2 separate regions of the Homo sapiens genome follow, and region 1 is linked to region 2. The links are contacts of gene promoters, found by promoter capture Hi-C in blood cells and fetal thymus (Javierre and others, 2016). All regions are on one chromosome and are shown on one strand. Each heading gives the region's core, a stretch centred on a gene start or on the middle of the fragment in contact. The rest is flanking DNA. Distances are from core to core; before and after follow the strand shown. Region 1 holds the start of PRKACB (protein kinase cAMP-activated catalytic subunit beta). Region 2 holds the start of BCL10 (BCL10 immune signaling adaptor).

Evidence for each region. The method cuts DNA at HindIII sites, captures the fragments that hold promoters and counts their contacts. A CHiCAGO score of 5 or more calls a contact.
Region 1: a fragment that was not itself captured here is called in contact with the fragment with the promoter of BCL10 in region 2 in 1 of 17 cell types (activated CD4 T cells); the score reaches 6.2 in activated CD4 T cells.

What each region holds. Positions count from the first base shown.
Region 1 is chr1:84,143,589-84,150,499 of GRCh38, reverse strand. PRKACB (protein kinase cAMP-activated catalytic subunit beta) reads right to left here and starts at 6,229. Exons shown (of 10, transcript NM_182948.4): 1 at 5,952-6,229. The coding sequence starts at 6,138. RefSeq lists a silencer at 6,161-6,210. The HindIII fragment of the contact is 1,219 bases long and covers 1,638-2,856 here.
Region 2 is chr1:85,272,573-85,278,767 of GRCh38, reverse strand. It overlaps BCL10 (BCL10 immune signaling adaptor), which reads left to right and starts at 2,136. Exons shown (of 3, transcript NM_003921.5): 1 at 2,136-2,472. The coding sequence starts at 2,416. It overlaps BCL10-AS1 (BCL10 antisense RNA 1), which reads right to left and starts at 2,410. Exons shown (of 2, transcript NR_045484.1): 1 at 1,971-2,410; 2 at 680-1,127. RefSeq lists enhancers at 1,836-2,538, 1,744-2,943. The HindIII fragment of the contact is 19,185 bases long and covers 1-6,195 here.

The DNA of each region.
Region 1 (6,911 bases), core at 998-3,497, 1.1 Mb after region 2:
TCCCATTAGGCCCCACCTCCAACACTGGGGATCACATTCCAACATGAGATTTGGAGGGGACAAACATATAATGTTCTTACCATGACCCTGGTAGTTGTAACAGAAGGAAGTATAATGGGCCATTATATTTTTAATTTTTAAAAATATCAATATACTGTTTTGAGAATAAATTTTACAATGTTAAATGTGTTTTCTTTATTTTATTTTATTTTAATTTATTTTGAGATAGAGTCTCACTCTGTCACCCAGGCTGGACTGCAGTGGTGCAATCTCACCTCACTGCAGCCTCTGCTTCCTGGGGTCTAGTGATTCTCCTGCCTCAGCCTCCCAAGTAGCTGGGATTACAGGTGTGCGCCACCACACCTGTAGATGGAGCCTGGCTAATTTTTGCATTTTTAGTAGAGACAGGGTTTCACCATGTTGGCCAGGCTGTTGTTGAACTCCTGACTGCAAGGGATCTGCCCACCTCAGCCTCCCAAAGTGCTGGGATTACAGGCGTGAGCCACCACACCTGGCCTTAAATTTGTTTTTAAAAATATCATTAAGGATAGTAGCTATATAATTATTTTCACACATTCTCAAGTGCTATAATCTATGAAAAAATAATTATTATAATAATTAACTCCAAAAAGATATGCATGTTTATCTGGGATTCAATTAATTTAATGCAAAAGCCTTAAAATGGTCATAACTTCTTCAAATTAATCCTATAAAATATAAAAATAATCCTAAATATGTACAAATATTTAGTTATAAAGATGTTTATCATGGCATTTTTTAATAGCAAAACATTAAAAACAGCCTAGATGGCCAATGATTGGTTAAATAAATTATAGTATATCCTTATGATTTAATACAAAATAGTATTGTAGAACAACTCTTTATAAAGAAAAATGTTAACTAAACATTATGTTTTGAAAGATCCAAATTCTGGAGCTGGGCTGGGTGCAGTGGCTCAGGCCTGTATTCCCAGCACTTTGGGAGGCCAAGGCAGGCAGATCACTTGAGTTCAGGAGTTCAAGATCGACCTGGGCAACATGGTGAAACTCCACCTCTACCAAAAATACAAAAAATTAGCCGGGTATGGTGGCACATGCCTATAGTCCCAGCTACTTGGGAAACTGAGATGGGAGGATCGCTTGAGCCTGGGAGGCAGAGGCTGCAGCGAGTCGAAATCCCACCACTGCACTCCAGCCTGGGTGACACGGTAAGACTCTGTTTAAAAAAAAAAAATTGGAGCTGGTAGAAATTTGTGTGTCTATACACAAAATAGAGTATATATACAAAAATTAACAGTCATTACCTTTTGGCAGAATTATGTATACTTTTTTTTACCTTTTTGTTTTTTCCTGTAGTTTCAAAATTTTCTCCAGTGAAGATATACATTTGGAAATCATATTAAAATGTTATTAGGGAAAAAGTGCTTCTCACACCTTAATGTGCATATAAATCAGCTGGGAAATCTTGTTAAAATGCTGATTCTGACTAAGTAGGTCTAGGTGGGACCTGGGATTCTTCCTCCTAACAAGCTCCCAGGAGATGCTAATAATGCTGGACAGGGACCACACTTTGAGTAGCAAGCTGTCTTCTAACTCTGTCATATGGCTATTTTTGCAAAGCACAAGCAAGTAAAAGCTTCTCGTTATGTTAGTACAGTTGATATAGTACTTGCATTGCTAAATGGCTCATGGAATGATTTCCTGATTTCAACATCATTTAATATCCCAACTATTTTAGTTTTACTATAAAGTCTGCTTGTTACTTAAATTTTTATTGGAAATCATGATAAAAATACACAGGTAACACTGAAAATTGGTATTTACTAGAGCCAGGTCAGCATTTGACTGCTTTTGGTTAATGGCCATGGGCTTTTAAAATAAATTGCAAAGATCACAATAGCACAAATTAGTAAGAAGCTCATTTGTGTAATACTGCAGTGATGTTTAATGTTAATTTAACAAATAACTCAAGATTTATTGAAAATTATGCTAGTAATACTGAAATAAACTGACAAGTTATTTGCCTTCAAGGAGTTCAAAATCAAACATGAGAGACAGATACATAAGGATTAATAGTAATGCATTTTAAATATTATAAACTATAATATATATAGTATACAAACTATACCATATAAATACTATAAATAAACCACAATAAAAGTTAAGTATAAGATGATATAAGAACATAAGGAAGAGCACAGACTCTAAGAAGGATGAAGGATAGATGAATAGGATACATTGGTGGTTTTGTTACAGAGATGATACCTGAGAGGATGCCTAAAGTATGGGCAAATCTCACCACTGGTAGAAGTGAAGAAAGAGAATTCCAGACAGAAGCAGCAACTTGAACAAGCACTGTTGTAAAAGGAATCCATTATCTGACTATTCATTGCCATGCTGACTGTCACGTCAAAAGCGTTAGTTCTAATTAAATGCCCAGCAAAAACGGAAGATGTATAGTAGCTATACACATTTCTCTGTAGTAAAGTAAGTTAACTTATCCTGTATTATGCTAGTTAAAATCTTTAGGCTCTTTTAACAAAGGTTGCATTATATTATTTTCCACTTTAAAAAACTGCATTGGCTCCCCACTAATACAGCGTAGTACAAAATTCTGGATGTCTAATAGAAAACTTTTAAAGTTTAAATCCAGAACCTAATTTTCTAGACAGTATCTTACTAAACCTTTTAAGTAAGTTCTAAATGTTCATATTTTCAAATACTTGTGTATGTTATTTTCTTAAAATAACCTTCTTCTCTAGGTCTCAAAATTCTATTCATTCTTTAATATTTTTGAAGTCCCCCATTTTCTCTTTAGTAACAACTTTTTTCTTACACTTAGCTTCCACAGTAAGCTTAGACATTTTAAAGCAACTATTTCATTATGCCTTGAATATTATATTATGTTTGCTCTTCTTTTTGGGGGTAAGAACTAGATCTTATTTTTCCTGGAAACTTGCTTACTTACTATGATATAGTAAATACTCAAAAAAGTTTTACCAAATGAGTAGAAATTGACTATTATCAAGAAGCTTATGGAATAGTTTCAAGTGGAAAAAGCTGATAAAAAGACAAAGGTGGAAAGTCTTTTAGCTGAGAAGTTAAAATGATACAGATTCAATGGGCTAACAAATAGGAGGTAAACTGTCTGAGAGATTGTATAAAATTTGCAAAGGTAAAACTGACTGAAGTGGTCTACTGTAACCACTTTATGATTTTGCTAGAGGACATCCATAATCAAAACTGCTCATTTGTTTAATATATTTAAATCTAAGATTTACTAAAATGGATTTGTATTTACAAGAGAAATAGCCTGTCAATTCATAGGAAAAGGGAAAGAAAAAGTATTTGATGGTATTGACCTATTTGCTTCTTAAAATACTGTAGTTAGACCTTCATTAAGTCAGCATTGTATAACTCTACACATTTATGATCAAAGGAAGATTAAAAAGCTAACTATAATAAATTTGCTAGAAAGAGAACTTAACGCATGTCAATGCTCTCATTCATTCTGAGTTGGAACAAAAAGCAGAATTCCTCCATGCTTTTCTTTGAACTTCATGTATTTATATGTGCATGCAATTAGCTGTTACATATTTATTTAATCAAACAGGAATTTCTGTTACTTAGTTTAATAGTAAAAGATGAAACACCTGAGACCACTATGTGGCCTTTGTTCTGTGTTTCTTCCTATACATAATGTCACTGGACACGAAAGAAACTTGGATTGAAGCATGCTGCATTTCATGTCTCCTAAATTGGTAACTGATCTTTATACAAAGGTTTATGAATTTTTTTTGTAAATTGATGTAGTTTCTATGCTTAGTTTATTTCATTATAAAAACACTTTAGGAACAAACATATTCAGTGTTTATCATCAGGAGACATTACATTCCCTTGTCAAATGAGTCATGCAAGTAAACTGCTTTAAGTAGCTTTGAAGAATGTGGTTCATATGAAACTTTGTACAGTCAGAACTCCTTCTATAACTCATTCGCCAAATAAATAAAAATTGTGTTTTCACCACAAAAATAAACCTTGGAATTTTGAAATGATCGGATTCCTCTATTTCAGCTCTATCAGTGTTTTCTCCTCTACAATAATACATTTCATAATAGGAAATTATAGCTTCATGCTACCATACTCATCCTTAGACATAAAATTATTATCTCTATTATGGTATTCAGGGATATAAAAAGGAGAGTCAAGTAGAGGAATGCTTAATTAATGAACATTCAGTTACTCTTTAAGTATTTCTTACATCATGCATATTATTTGCAGCGCTACATGGTTTGCTCCTAATTTTATTTGTGTACAAGAATCCTATTTGTTTTGACTTCACAATAAAAAAAAAACAAAACAGCATTTTATCCAATAGAAATCATGGCTCATGATACTATTTTCCATTACTAGATTTTAAAATATGTTTTAGAAAGCATCACAGATCCCATACATTTAAAAAGTGGTGAAAGTCTAGTTCAAACATAACTTTTAATTATTAAAAACCCCTAACATTCATTTATTTGAGACACTTTTACTAAACACCCACTATATGAAGAGCAGGTATTAATGAAACAGAAATTAATTCAATTCTGTCTTAATTCCTCATTTAACTTTAAATTAAAACATACTTGAAATGCATAAAAATAATTTCCAAAAGGATTTAAAAGACTGCAATTTAAAAGAATAGGGCAAGGACAATAATTAACAAGCTTTTGTTACATGGTAAAGTTTAATATTATACCACTATTTTAATATTCAACAGTTCATTAACTTGAAGATATATATTCATATTCCTCATCCATCAACTTGCTATACAGTAAAGACTATAAATAACCCAAAACCTTTTAAGTGGAAAAAATGCACAAATACATGTTCTTCCTCAATCTCCCAAAAATAGTTTGAAGAATGTAAAAAAATTTCTGATTTAGTAAAAAATTAATTCAAATAAGCTTCTATAACACTGTCAAGGTGCTGTATAAACCTAGGAGTAAATTTTGTAAGCCATTCTTGATTTTGCTGTTGTGGTTGTTAAGCTGAGTTTTCTTCCTTAACTGCTACCAAATACATAAACAGAAAGAGTCAAACGCTAGTGCTATTTGATGATCAAACAAACACACCAAAGAGGGCAAAAGTTTCAAGGGTAATTCTATTGTTCCTCTAATTGGAGTCACAGAAATACCTTGAGGAGGGTCCAAGGTGAGATGTAGAATGGCGGCACTAGTATTGTTTATATGTGCAATTTATCTTTTAGAGTGTATGGCACCAAAAATGGTTCCCCAGCACCATTTTAGCAAAGCTGCAAGTTCAAACATTTTAACATGCCTGAAAGAATGTGATTCATGCATAACCAACTTTTCCTGCATTTGAGTCATATGTATAAATAACATAAAATATAATTATAAAGTTTTTGATATCCATAATGTTATAAGTGTAAGAATTTAGATAGAATAATTATGTTTTATTTTAGAAATTCCTGTTTGTAAAACTGAAATAACTTTCTCACATGCATTTAAAAATAAAACCATGGCAAACACAATAGAAATGTAATTATAAATTCAAGAGTCTTGTTGCCCCTTTCAAAGTTTAAAGCTTATAAATACAAGACATTTTAAGAAGTAAACAGATGGTTGTTTCTGAAACTTAAGTATTTCATTTTTATGTAAGAACAACAAAAAAAAGTACATTAGAAATGATGTAAGAATTTTATAGAAAATCTTGTCACTGATATTGAACTTAGTCAAAAATAAAACCATACAATGATGAAAGCTGAATGATTCAGCTCAACTTATAATCAAGTTTTTATGGAATTCTTTCAACTTCATCTTGCAAAATGTCCTTGTGAAAATCAGAAAACAACAAACAAAAGAGGGTTCTTTATGTTTGATTGTAAAACTCCAATTACCATTTTAGTTGCTAGTTATAATGTATCATTTAAAAAACAAAACTTACTTGATCTGTCCCATAAGGCAGTATGTTCAGAGAAATGAAGGCTGTCATTTTCCAGAGCTGTTTTCTGATCATGTGCAGTACCTTTAGAGTGTCTATGAAATAACCGGCTAGCAAAACCTTCCAATTTCTGAAGAGCTGTAGTTGTACCTGTATACTGGTTACAAGGTGGTTCTCTATAAGCTGCCATTCATGTGCATTTACACTTTACTTAATGTAACTGCAAATGTTTCCAGAAGGAGCTCACAACTTCTTACACAGAAGCTAAGAGCTATGCATGTGTCAAACTTCCTGTTTGCAGGGTATTCAAACCACTACTGCTGTTCTGTTTCCTGTTAATATAAAACAGCACATTACTGAGCTTTTCTTAGCAAAACACTTTTCAGCTAGAGTTGAGGATTTTAAAAACTTGCAATATCTGCCTAAAAGGCTTTATGTTTGGGTGTTTTAATATTAATATATAGGCTAATGAGAGCATTAAATATAAAGCTTTATATATATAGTAGGCTAAACATTCTTTAAAAAGAAAACTAGTTAAACATGTATGACAAGTCTATGCAAACAACTGAAGGCCAAGCTGTCCTCCAAACACAACATGCTAAAGACAGGTTGTATTTTTTCTAGGAAATCAACTAATATACAGATTTTATGAATCCTTATAAGCAGCTAACTTTTCATAAAAAAAAACTAGTATGAAATGGGTATGAAAAAACTCTTGCAAAACAAATTTATAACACGTATAAATAAAACAATGTGAAATAGCACTTTAAAAAATTGAATGTTTCTAATTCATTGATTTAGGCCTAATACATACAGGAACTACATACACTTAGTATGTCAGTATTGCTTATCAAACTTATAATCTGCTGACATATGTCTATTACCAGGGGTACATTTTAAAACATTCTAAAATTTGAAAAGAACAAAATACAAGATTTAAATTATATAAAATCCACCATAGCA
Region 2 (6,195 bases), core at 887-3,386:
TAAATAACTTAGATATAGCCAGGCGTGGGGGATCATGCCTGTAATCCCAGCACTTTGGGAGGTTGAGGTGGGCAGATCACCTGAGGTCAGGAGTTCGAAACCAACCTGGCCAATGTGGTGAAACCTTGTCTCTACTAAAAGTACAAAAATTAGCTGGGCGTGGTGGTGTGTGCCTGTAGTCCCAGCTACTCAGGAGGCTGAAGCAGGAGAATCGCTCGAACCCGGGAGGCAGAAGTTGCAGTAAGCTGAGATGGTGCCATTGCACTCCAGCCTGGGAAACAGAGTGAGACTCCGTCTCAAAAAAATAAATTAATTAATTATTTTTTTAAAATAACTTAGATATAGCCGGGTGTGGTGGCATGCGCCTGTAATCCCAGCTACTGGGGAGGCTGAGGCAGGAGAATCACTTGAACCTGGGAGGAGGAGGTTGCAGTGAGCAGAGATCGTGCCACTGCACTCCAGCCTGCGTGACAGAGCGAGATTCTGTCTCCAAATAAATAAATAAATAAACTTAGATAAAATTTTTCAAGTGCCTACCTCGTCTGCCCCAAACACAAATAAACTAGAATATAAATTCCATGAGGAAAGAGATTTTTATTGGTTTTGTTCACAGCTGTTTTCCTAGCACCTAGAACAGTGTCTGGCACATAGTGGACATTCAAAACACATTTGTTAAATGAAAGGATTCATCCTAAAGTTAAGGATGGTTCAGTAAATCGGATGGAAGATGATGAAAAATTAAGCAATTAGAAAAAAACTGTCCTTGTGTAATGTGTCAACATGGAAACAGGACATAATGTAAACATCAGAATCCCTTGCTGTGATTCTGGTTTTTGTGGCTCTGGTTACATTGTTTTTTTGTGTGTGTTTTTTTTTTTTTTTGCTTTCCCGTTTCTTAAACATTGGCGTTCCCAAGTTTCTCCTTGGTCCTCCTGTCATTTTTATCTACTCTCGTAGCTTCAAATACCATCTAGTTTATAGTTTATTTAGCATGTTGTCCAAGCCACCGTCTTGGGCCCAGGGCTCTACCTGTAGCTTTTCATCCACACTTCTCAGGTTGCTTCTTACACAGCGCCATAGTAGTTAAAATACGGTCTGGGGATAGTCGTCTCTTCATCAGTCTCCCCCTATAAAATGGAGGACTCATAGTATAAGTTGCCTAGAACATATTAGTAAGGACTCAATAAATGTTTGAGTAGGATGAGCTGGGTGGCTCATGCCTGTAGTCCCTGCACTTTGGGAAGCCGAGGCGGGTGGATGGCTTGAGCCCAGGAGTTTGAGACCAGCCTGGGCAACATGGCGAAACTCCATCTCTATAAAAAATACAAAAAAACTAGCTGGACTCCCAGCTGCTTGGTGGCTGAGGTGGAAGGATCGCCTGAGCCCTGGAGGTGGAAGCTGCAGTGAGCCGAGAATCGCACCACTGCACTCCAGCCTGGGCGACAGAGTGAGATCCTGTCTCAATAAATAAATAAATAATCAGTTGAGTGCATACTGTGTGCCCAACTACCTTTAAGAACTTTACATATGATCCCGGCAGCCCTAAAAGGTAAGCATATCTATCTCCATTACACAGATTAACTAATGAGGAAAAGCTATGTTTATAATGAACAGTGACCAAAAAGTATGCAAACGTTAAATGAGGTGTTAAAGTGGTGGGATTGTAGGTGGTTTCTTTTTTTCTTTCAAAAATTTGTTTAGTATTGTAGTTAGGCTGTTTGTGTGTATGCATGTGTATGTGTGTATGAGTGCGTTTGTGTGTGACCAAAACAGTAACTGGCAAACGTAACAACAGGAAATTGTAGGGCAGGGTCTGGGAAAAGGGGAGGAACCCAAGGTACTGACAAGCCCAGACCGGACTCCCCCGAAGTGAGCAGGCAGCAAAGGCTGAGAGTGCCAGCTGCCTGGGCACTGACGGACCCCACCCACGGAAACGATGCCTTATGAGGAAGCTAACCCGGGCCACTTACCGACGACCTGCGCAGGCGTGGCTTGAGGAAACGCCCGCTGTGGGCGGAGCCACCCGAAAGGCTCCGGTCGGGGGCGGGAACAGGATCGGCCCGCGGGCTGGCGTCGATAGGCTGCCGCAGAGACAGGGCGGGCTCTGCTAAGCGACGCGCCTCGCCGTGGGGCGGTGCCTGCGCCTGAGCCTCTACGAGAGGGAAGGAACGCTGCTCCGAGCTCCGCGTCGCGTCGCGTAGATTCGCGTCGCCGTCGACCTCAGAGGCGGGGCCGGAAGCGCTACGGTTTGACCCCCGAGTCCCTCTGTTCCCGAAGGGGCGGCCGTCTTTCTCCCGACCCGCTCCGCCTCCTCTCCTTCTTCCCCATTACCCGGAGGCCGAAGCCCCCAGCCAGGGCGGGGCGGCGCAGCCCGAGCTCCCGGACCCGGAAGAAGCGCCATCTCCCGCCTCCACCATGGAGCCCACCGCACCGTCCCTCACCGAGGAGGACCTCACTGAAGTGAAGAAGGACGTGAGTAACGCAGCTGTGCCCAGGGCGGGCGGGGGCGGGCTGCAGCCCAGCGGGAGACGAAAGCGGAAGCCTGGAGTCCGAGGACAAGGAGGATCCTCCAGGTCGGAGGAGCGGAAAGTCCTAGCACAGGAGGACTGTGGCGAGCCCTGCATCCGAGGGACCTTGGTGGCAGTGATCCTCCAGTGATCTGTCAATCCAGGTTTTACATCGCTAAACGCAGAGCTTGGGCTTTGTTGCCAAGTGGTGTTTTGATTCTTGCCCACTCCTCACCCATCTCCTCATGCTTTCCCCCCAACTGGGTTCTTGGAGATGCTTCGTTAGGGACTGGCGGCTCAGATTCATCCTTAAGTCAGGCTGCCTAGGCTGCTCACTCAGCCTAGAGCGAAGGCTGTACCAGGTGAAGGATCCCAAGCAGTGGACCAAAAATGTGAAGCTCTTTTGCATAAGGGGGCTTGAGGAAGCTCAACAGCTGAAAGCACAACCTGGAATTCCCCTAGTAAGCAGACGCCCACATATTTAAATTGGGGTTGGGGGAGTGAATACACGTAGCTGAGAATTAATGTACAGGTAAACGTCGAAAATATTCAGTAGCTAAATTATGCTCTTCTCGGATGGTGCAGAACCACATAAACCTTCATATTTATTCGTAACGAATGGCTTTGTTGAGATATGACATTCTTTTTCCTTTGCGTTTACTTGTTTTGTCAGATGAGACCTATATGAGTATCACTAAAATACTTTATCTGAAGTCAAATGAAAAACAGAAACTCAACATGAAACGTGTTCTTATTGAACACTGCAGTACTTTTACAAAGTCATTTTGATGAACTGGACAGGATGGCAACTTTTTAAATGTTCATCCACTTCAAATCCCTTCCTCTTCCCTGTAAGGTTTATTACACTGTACTCACAATTGGTGTGACTCACCAGCAGAAGGAAACTGGATATGACTGGGAGTTGTGCTTAGTTTCCTCATTCAACAGAGATTTATGGAGCACTTGCTATATGGAAAGCACTGGCCTTGGGTCTGGAAGGATACAAAAAAATGAAGATCAGTTTCCTGCTTTACATTCTAGTTGAGATAAGAATGGAACATAAATAACTACTGTAGAATAAATGTTGTCTTATTCATGGTGAGTGCCAGTAAAACCTTGAACTTCCAAGAGCTAGGCCTCCTATGTTCCAGATGCTGTGTCACACAGTTTACAATGTTCCCACTTAACCTTCGCAACAACCTCTAAAGAAGATAATTGCCATTCCCATTTTACAGCTAATAAAACAGGAACTGAGAAATTACAAGTGGAAGGAAATAAGATCTGTATACAAGTACAGATGTGAAGAGTGGCTTCCAGGTCTTTGTTCTTCTCTGTCAATTCATTGATGTTATCTGTCTTCAGGATTTCATTTTACGCCTATATCAGAAATAAATAACCTTGAGGAAACCATGGATGGGTTTCAAAAGGTCTATGAAAGAAACTATGTGCATGCTTTTTTCTTAGAGGTTTTTTTCATGATATTTTCAAAATGTCTTCTGATCTTAGAGAGTTTTAAAATTATCCACATATTTGGACTTTTCTCTCCACTCTAGGTCCTTATTTCCAAATGTCTACTGGAAATCTACTTTTATATCCTACAGATTGCTCACCTTGTCAAATATTGAACTTTTACTATCCTTTTCCCAAAGTTGCTTACTGTTGCTGCTGTATTGCCTTTCTTGATGAATGGTGTGCTACCACCCTTTGTCTTGGGACCTCCCACTTCTTTAGTGTCTCCCCCTCCTCCTATCTAGTTATTTGCCTCATTGTGTTAGTTGGATTTAGTACAGTTTAATAAATATGGATTACATGCTACTGTGAGGCTGATACTGTGGTTGGTTCTAACAGTTCAAAAATTAAAAATGAAAACACAATCCTAACTTGAAAAGAGCTCAATTTCTTGAGGGGGATTGTTTTAAATCACAAAATAAGTGCAGTGAGTTTTGCATTCAACTGAAACATTAACTACTTGGTGCCCTAGTAAGTGCAGGATATACAGTGTTGGCTAAAACATACCTCGTAGCTGCCTGCTTCAAACAGAGACGTTAGTTTAAAACAAATAAATAAATTTTGTTTTCATTATTGCAATTACTATGAAGGAATCAAACAGTGCCAAGACAATAATAGGGGAAATCGACTTGAGATAGGATGGTCAGGAGAGGTTATATTTAAACTGATTCCTGAAAGATTTGACAGAACTGAGGGAAGAGCATTCTGGGCAGAATAGAATTTGTCAAGGACCTAAAATAGGCAAGACCCTGGTGACTTGGGGAAATCGGAGGAAGGCAGAGGGTAATCTGAAGTGAAGTTAGGAAGGTGGGCTAGAGCCATTTTCATGAAGAGCCTTTTAGTAAAGTATCTGGGGTTTTTTTCCCCCCAAGTATAGTAGGGACTTGTTGAAGAATTGTATAGTTTAAAGATCCCTCTGCCTGTTTCATGGACTGAGGAGAACAAGAATAAGAACAGGGAAGCCAGTGAGCAGGCTCTTGGAATCTATAGAGATGAATGAGGATGGTGATTTGGATCAGGGTGAAGGCAGTGGAGATGAATGGAGCAGAATTCCAGATGCAGTTTTTGAAATAGAAATGATATGACCTGGTGATGGATTGAACATGGGAGTTGAGGAAGAGGATGTAATTAGATTAGTACATGGAAATGTCAGATCAGCAATTACATCTGCAAAGTCAAAGATCAGAAGAGAGATCTGAGCTAGAAATGTAAGTGTGGAATTGAATGATTTTACCTAGAAAGCTGTGAGCTAGAAGAGAAAAATGGTGTAAAACCCTTTAAAGAGAAGAATTTTAAAAAGTGAATTGTTAGCTTGAAAGTAGGGTAACAACAACAACAAGAAAATGATTGAAAAGTTGTATCCACAGGGATGGGAAGAAAACCAGGAGAGTGTGGTATTCATGTAACAATTTTCTTGTTTCAGGGAGGGAGTAGTCAACTGTGTTTATGCAGCTGAAAAATGAAATGAAGACTGAAAATATTTGGCAATAAGGGGGTCATTGGTGACTTCGAGAAGAATACTGGGGCAGGATGGAAATGTCTGGGAATGAATTGGGAAATGAGGTGAAAGAAGTGGAGTCCTGGTGTATAGAAAGATGAAGTGTATACACAAGGTGCTACAAGGACAGAGGACGGGGTGCCTAACTCATTCTGGGGAGTTAGGTAAACCTTTCCAAAGAAGATGACCACTGACCTAAATCTTAAAGGACGAATAGGGGCTTTAGGGTCTGATAAAAGCAGACAAAAAATACGTAAGGAAATGTAGAGAGACAGATAGTTTTAGGTAGAGCATAAATTTTCAGGACAAAGGTAGTGATAGATTAAGCTGGAGAGGTAGGTAGGAGCCATATTATCAATGAACCTTGTCTTCCATAATTAGTTATTATTGAGTACTTACTGTGTACAGAGACTATGCGTGGCCTTCATATATAGTATTCCCATTTAGTCCTCCTTGATGTCCTGTGAGTTAAGTTTTTAATCCTTATTTTATCAATAACATACCTGGAGCTTGGAGTGGTGAAGTAACTTGGCCCAGCTCTCACAAGGGTGAGTACTAGATTCAAGATTTGCACTGAGGTTGATCCAACTTTAGAGCCATGCCCTTAACTTTTCTACTCTTCTGCCACGTAAAGGAACTTTATCCTTTAAGACAGGGCAGAACATTGTTTTTAATTTTTTT